Regions from separate parts of the Homo sapiens genome. Here region 2 is linked to region 1. Evidence: promoter capture Hi-C in 16 types of primary human blood cells and fetal thymus (Javierre and others, 2016). All regions are on one chromosome and are shown on one strand. The core of a region is centred on a gene start or on the middle of the fragment in contact, and the rest is flanking DNA. Distances in the headings are between cores, read along the strand shown. Region 1 holds the start of GOLIM4 (golgi integral membrane protein 4). Region 2 has its middle 10 kb from the start of ACTRT3.

The links. Contacts are between HindIII fragments. The CHiCAGO score rates a contact against its expected background, and 5 or more counts as called.
Region 2: a fragment that was not itself captured here is called in contact with the fragment with the promoter of GOLIM4 in region 1 in 1 of 17 cell types (erythroblasts); the score reaches 5.1 in erythroblasts.

What each region holds. Positions count from the first base shown.
Region 1 is chr3:168,094,489-168,097,797 of GRCh38, forward strand. GOLIM4 (golgi integral membrane protein 4) reads right to left here and starts at 1,436. Exons shown (of 16, transcript NM_014498.5): 1 at 611-1,436. The coding sequence starts at 797. RefSeq lists silencers at 1,212-1,261, 1,552-1,791 and enhancers at 1,463-1,964, 2,162-2,211. The HindIII fragment of the contact is 7,495 bases long and covers 1-3,309 here.
Region 2 is chr3:169,757,899-169,761,260 of GRCh38, forward strand. No RefSeq gene overlaps it. Among named protein-coding and RNA genes, the nearest start is that of ACTRT3, 10 kb to the right of the region's middle. The HindIII fragment of the contact is 1,828 bases long and covers 837-2,664 here.

The DNA of each region.
Region 1 (3,309 bases), core at 186-2,685:
CACACATCCAGCATCTCTAAAGACATCCTATTAAATTAAAAGAATAAGAAATAAGAAACTAGCAGGTCCAGATCTAGGTTCCTTCCATTCGACTGGGCCATGACTTTAATTAAGCTGCTGGGTCATGGCTTAATTTTCCCTTGAAAAACAGCACAGTTTGAGAAATCTCTGCCAAACTCTTCATTTTTTAAGCAACTGACAAAGTCAACAAGAAAGCAAATACCTAGAATCCACGGAACAATGCTCCTCAGAGCAGGGCTGGCAGAAGCGGCGGAGGGCTACCAGTTTCCCTGCCCCGATTGCAGCTGGGCCTTTGACAAGAGCTCGGGTAAAGGACTATCTGTGCACCCGCCCACCAAACGCCCAGCGGGACGATGGGCTGGTGCTACGAAGTTCTAAACCTAACCGCTGGGAGGAAGAAGCGGGAGGATGAGAATGTCATCTCCCCTGACACTCTGGTGCCGGCAGTCCTGAAACGCTCACCTCTGACGTCCCTGAAGGTCAGAGGTGGCAACCACAGTGCCAATAGCTCACCAAAGCCACTTTTCCTGCCCGGGTGGAGGCGCGGGGCAAAGTTGGCCACCGGCTGCGCGCGTCCCGTTAGCCGTACCTTGTAACTGGGCGGAGAGGGACTCCTGGTGCTGCTGGTACTTGAGCGCCACCGCCTCGGCTTTCCGCAGCTGCGTCTGCAGCTCGTAGTAGAGCATCGCGCCGTAGAGAAAGCCGAACACGACGGTCAGCAGCAGCAGCGTCTGGAAAATCCGCTTCTGCTTTCGGGAGCACATCCCGTTTCCCATAGTCCCGCCTGGACCCAAAGCCGCGGCCGCCCCCGCCGTCTCCTCCCCTTGGTCCGAGCGAGCGTCTCAGCAGCGGCCGCCGCAGTAGGTGGCCAGACGCAGCATGAGGAGGAGATGCCAGACACAAAAGCCGGCCCGGAGGGGAAGTGGCGCCCGCTCAGCCCCCGCGCGGCGCGGGGCGCGCAGCCATCGACGCCGCCCGGGCAGCTGCAGCCAAACTTCTGCGAGGCTCGTTCTCCGCGAATGCCCGGGGCCGGGAGGAGGCCCTCCGCATACTTCAGAGCCGGCTGCCCTCGCGCCTGTCCCCAGATGCCTCCTGCCTTTTTTCCTTCTTCCCACTTTTTGGCCCCGCTGCCCCCGGGCAGTTCTTGGAGTCCCGCCCTGGCCACTCCCCGCCCTATCGCGGCGGCTCCCACTGCACGACTTTGTTGCCACCTAAGGGAGGGGGTGCGCGCCCAACAAAGGGACCAGGACTCCGGGCCGCGCCCCCGTGCGGCCTGCCCAATGGGTGGAAGGGTGGGGGCCAGCTGTCTCGGCTGGTTTTGGGGACGGCACAGCGGTGTCACTGACGGGTCGGCTGGTGCCTCTGCCGCCCCGCCACCTCCTGCCCAACTTACGTGTCACCCACGGCCCGGCTATTCTGGCCAACGGGATTCCGGGAGGAAGTCCCACTCGGCCTCCTTGCTCATTGGGCCCGTCCGAGCAGACGCTCCCTCCCTTCGGGGAGGCAGTGCCGGGCTCGATTGGATGCCGGCTTTGTCCGTCCGACCCCAGGGCCGCACCTTCCCTCCCAGTGCCGGGGCCGGCTAGGGGCTCTGTGGGCAGCGCGGCCGCCTGGCGCCGGGGTGCGCCCACGTGGAGTCGGAGAGGGTGGGAAGAGGCAGGCGGAAGGGCGAAGGGCGGGGAGCTTTGGGTGGGCGGGGGACTTGTCCGGGCCTGAGTCTGGGTGAGGTTCGGTGAACACGTGTGTGTGTGTGTGTGTGTGTGTGTGTGTGTTCCAGTTCTCGTTCGGAACGCACGTGGAGAGCGGAGTAAAATGTGTGTATGAACGAAAGAATGGATGGCAGTAACTGTGTGCACTCTGCTGAGTACACTTTCTTTCCCTGTCCAATAAACTGATGCGGCAGACACATGGGATAGCTACATAGCACAATCCCGGTAGTCAAACCAGAGATGCCATGTCGACTGCCTTACCCCATCCAGTGTACTAGCCTAGATGTGTGTGTGCCCACAGATGGCCCGGCAGGAGTCGGGAGACTGGAAGCACGCTAGACTTAATGTTCAATTGTCCACGTGGGCTGGGGAAATCGGCTTGCCATTGGCAGAGAGGAAAGAAATGGTCTCACATTTCTCCTCTAGCTGCAAATAGAATAATTTAAAAACAAATCGTACAGACTGAAATGAGTATCCATTCATTTTGTCATATGTATTTGTTTTATTGGTGGCAAAACACATCAGTTACATTTCTAAATTACATTTTAAAGGGCAACAAAGGTTCCCTATGTAAAAACTAGTACAGCACAGGAAAGGTAGTAACCACAAACCTCTTCGAAGAAATGTATACTGCATTTATTTTTTCTGTGTACTTGAGGGGAATAATTAAGGTTATGCACAAATGATAATTTTTGTTTCTGCTGTTGACCTGAATTCTAAGAAAAGTAAATTTTATCTGTCTGTATAGTGTGGTGTAATTTATGATACACTGCATAATTTTTATATTCTAACTGGACTTTAGTCGTTACCATTGCTAATGGGCCTGAGTGCTCAAAATGGGGGTAAATCTCTTTAGCTAAATGCAACAGAAAGACAGTTCCTGGTGCAAAAGTTTTTTTAGGTGGACTCTGAAATTATAGGTTGCTAAAGCCCTAAAATAAACTGAATTTATAACGATGCTACCCTGTGGCATTTATACCACTGTAAAAATAAAGTGTGTCTTGCATGTGCTTTTCCTTAATAAATAATAACTTGCGTTAAATTATTCAAAATGCTTTCGTGTGCAGATACACTGTCTCACTGATCACAGCCAGGGTGTTAGACTTTCATGTTGGTAAAGAAGCCAAAGTTTATCAAAGTGACTATGACAGCTCTAGGACCTTTTAGGTCTTGCATAAAGTTAGTTACTCAGCAAGATTAGAATCCAGATCCAAACCCTGCTCTATGTCTTTTTCTTCAATAGAAACAATGTTCTCATTCTATTAAACAAGTTACAGTAAGAAATTATATCTCCATTAACATGAGAATCTGATTGTAAAAGAAAACAGTCTAAAGGAGTTTGGGAGTTTTGTTGTGTAAATACTACATAATCTTCCTTATTATTAAATCTACCACTTTAAATTCCTCTTTTTTAGTTTGACTCTCAGAAATTAACATTGGATAATTACTGGAATCTCTTTAAAATTCCTCATAACTAAACATTCCTTACTGTTGTCAGAGTACTTTGTTAAACAAACTCTTCCTCCAAAAACACTATCCAAATTTAGGCTGGGCATGGTGGCTCACTCCTGTAATCCCA
Region 2 (3,362 bases), core at 501-3,000, 1.7 Mb after region 1:
CAGAGGACACGGCAGGGTGCGGGGAAAATGAGACATCAGCAGTGGTGCCCAGAAGACTGGTTTTAGCTCCTGGGTGTAGCAGTAGCATTTACGGGAAGGGGAAAGGGAAGAAAAAATAGATTTGGGGGATAAAATGATGAATTTAGTAAATTTAAATAACATGAGACTGCACCATATAATTTGCTTATAGAATCTCTCTCTCCAGGAAGACCTTTAAAGATGAGGAATATATGTTTCACCTTTGAAGTCTCAACACCCTGAACAATACAACATGTTGCAGACTAGGTATTTAGTGTTTGTTAAATGAACATCACAACTTTGCAAGTGGTTCATTCATTCCAGTATAATAAGATTCCAGTTATTGTGAAAAGCCATTTAAACTGTTTTCCTTACCAAGGAAAAGTTGATAGATGAGTAATTATTCTTTAACTTAAAAAGAGAATGAAAAAGTATGTGATTTTTTTAAAATTATTTTTTGTTTGTTTAGTTTTCTGTAAAGTAAAATAGCAGTTAAAAGCTAAAATGCGTGTATTTACATTCTTAGGCCTGCTACTGACCTTCTTCAAGTGATTTTACCTCCCAACGTTTCAGTTTCTCCATTTGCAGAAGGGAGATAATGGTGGTTGCCTTATCTCACAAGGATGTCATGAAAATAAGTCAGATAAATTGCTTTGCCCTCCTTGGAGAGGGGCTCTAGAAAGTAAGCATTATTAGATATGATGATGAATACCCACAACTTCAAAGATATTTTTAAATTGCCCCCCCTCCGCCCCCAAGTCTTTGAACATGTTAAGCCTATGAATAGCACTGGGGTAGGTGTTTATATATTTCTGGCAAGCTTTCACCTCTTGTTAAAGCAGTAAATGGTCTTTGAACAAACGTATTTCTCATTCTTTGATAACTATGCTTCCTTGTTTGTACACTTGAAAGATGATTATAATCTGGCATATGAGGTCAAGTTGAACTCCTTGGTGCCATTACAGTTCAAATGTAGCTTTAATTGAGTTTTTCTTCCAAGGTTGAAAATAAGTCACCCAGTTCACTTTAGCAAACTACTCGCATTTTTTAAAAAGATTGTGGGGAATGTAACTGTTTTTGCAACTGATATGTATAATGTTTTTCATTTTAGTTATAATATCCTCATTGATCATACAAAAAAGTCAGTATTTGTATTTCTTCATTATTGCATTTTTCTGTTTTCCTTAAATTGTTTTTAATAACTATAATTATGCCTTTTAACACTTATATAGACAGCCATAGTACACACATAAATATCACCAAAGTGAAAACCTAGAGCCCCAAGACAAAAAAAAAAAAAAAAATGATAGTCAAACATCATCTAGAGAAAGATTCTAGCTGCAGGTGTGCATCAAGTTCATAATTGGTGTTATTTTAAAAATTCACAAACCATTAGCACTTCCACCCTTCTCCATATATCTCTTAACTATATACCCAAGTCAAAACCACTTCCTGCCAGAGTAACTACAACATACCCATCAGAGCGCTGTAAAATCATTACTTGCAAAGTAAAGAGTAAGACAGACTTCTCCTCTCATTAATAATACCAGTTGCTGTCATATATATTACTCATATATTCTCCCCACAACCACCCTTCAAGGGAAGTCTTAGTACATCCGGTTGACACATGTGGAATGTAAAGTTGGGTGACTTATGCTAGATTCCCTCAGCTAGGTTAGAACAGGGTAAAAGTACAGGACCACAATAATATCCTTATTTCAATGTCTTCCTGTTTCCTTTTTATATCAAGGAAGAAATGAGAATTTGAGGCAACACAAATGAAGACCATATATACTTTGATACCTACCTAGGAGGGGAGATACAAACCAGAGTAAAGGAAAAATATGGGAAAAGTTGCCTCATTTCCACCTAGTGATGGTGGAACCCTTGGAACCCTCTTCACATCCCATAACGACTGACAGAATGGACACTGAAAAACAGGCCCACCCCTCAGGCAGAACCACTGGAAGAAATACCCTAACCCCTATACGTGAAGGATTAGCACTACTATTTTCAGAATATTATTAAAATTTAATTTTGAAACTTCTCTTTAGTGATATTCCCAGAAACCTATAACAGATACCACCAGTGTAAACTCCTCTCAAATACATTTATTTTGGGTAGGCCTCAAACTGGTAGGATGGTCCAAACCCTCACCCTTCTAGAGAAAGCACTCAGGAATGCTTAAATTTGCCTAGGCCAAAGGTCGCAAATTAATAGCCTATAATAGACCAGATTTTATCTCAAAACGTTTTTTTATTGGTGCATTGCAATGACTTCAGCTATCAACAACCTAAGCTAGGAGGTCCCCAGGCCATCCTTACATCTGACAAGCTGCCTACAAATTTAGGGGTTCCCACTACCCCTTCAAGTTTCATAATTCAGTAGAATGACTTAGAGAACTCAGGAAAGTGTTATTTCGGTTTTATTACAGTTTTATCATAGCAAAAGGATGTTTATTATAGTTATTATTATGGTTTTATTATAGCAAAAGGATTCAAATCAAAACCAGCCAAAGGGAGAGACACATAGAGTGAGGTCTGGGAGGGTCCCAGAAAGAAGGTTCCATTGTCCCTCTCCTCATGTCCTCAGGGACACATTTTCCTCCTAGCACACTGAGTACTGCCAACCACGGACGTTCATCCAAGCTTCAGTGTGTCCAGAGTTTTTATTGGGGCTTCATTACAGGCATGATTGGATGAATCACTAGTCATAAGGCTCAGACATGTGGCTCCAAGTCTCTCAAGAGGTCGGGCTAGTATCATGGGGCCCAAAGCCCCAACACTCTAATCACATGGCTGACCAACCCCCAGTCATGAGTCATCTCGTTAGTGTAAACTATTGGGTCTAGTCCAAGAGGCCTACCAAGAAAAGACACTCCCACCATTCTTGGTGAATTCCAAGGGTTTAGAGGCTACTTCCCAGGGTTCAGGAACAAAAGCCATCCAAATTCTTTACCATGCACTTATATAATATTTAAATTTTATTTCAATTTAGCTACCAACATTCTATAATCAGTGGTGTTGACATAAAAATCTGAATTTTTGTCTTCTCTTGCAATACTGACAATTTTAGGCTCAATTTCTGTAAGATTGCTGCCTCCTTAAAAAGGGAAGCTCATTCTCCCTACCATCTCTATAGTCTCCATTTTCTTATTCCCAGTGTGATTCACTTCTTTGTTTCCTTTCTGTCCACTGCAGACATTTAAATTTGCATATCCTGGGCTAATTCTTGGGTATTTTCGCTGTTTTTACTTCCATCACATATTATTACCTTAAAAGAATGAACATGAAGGAATGACAGTTACCTTTTGTCACTTCATTCTCATCTTATTTAAAACCACT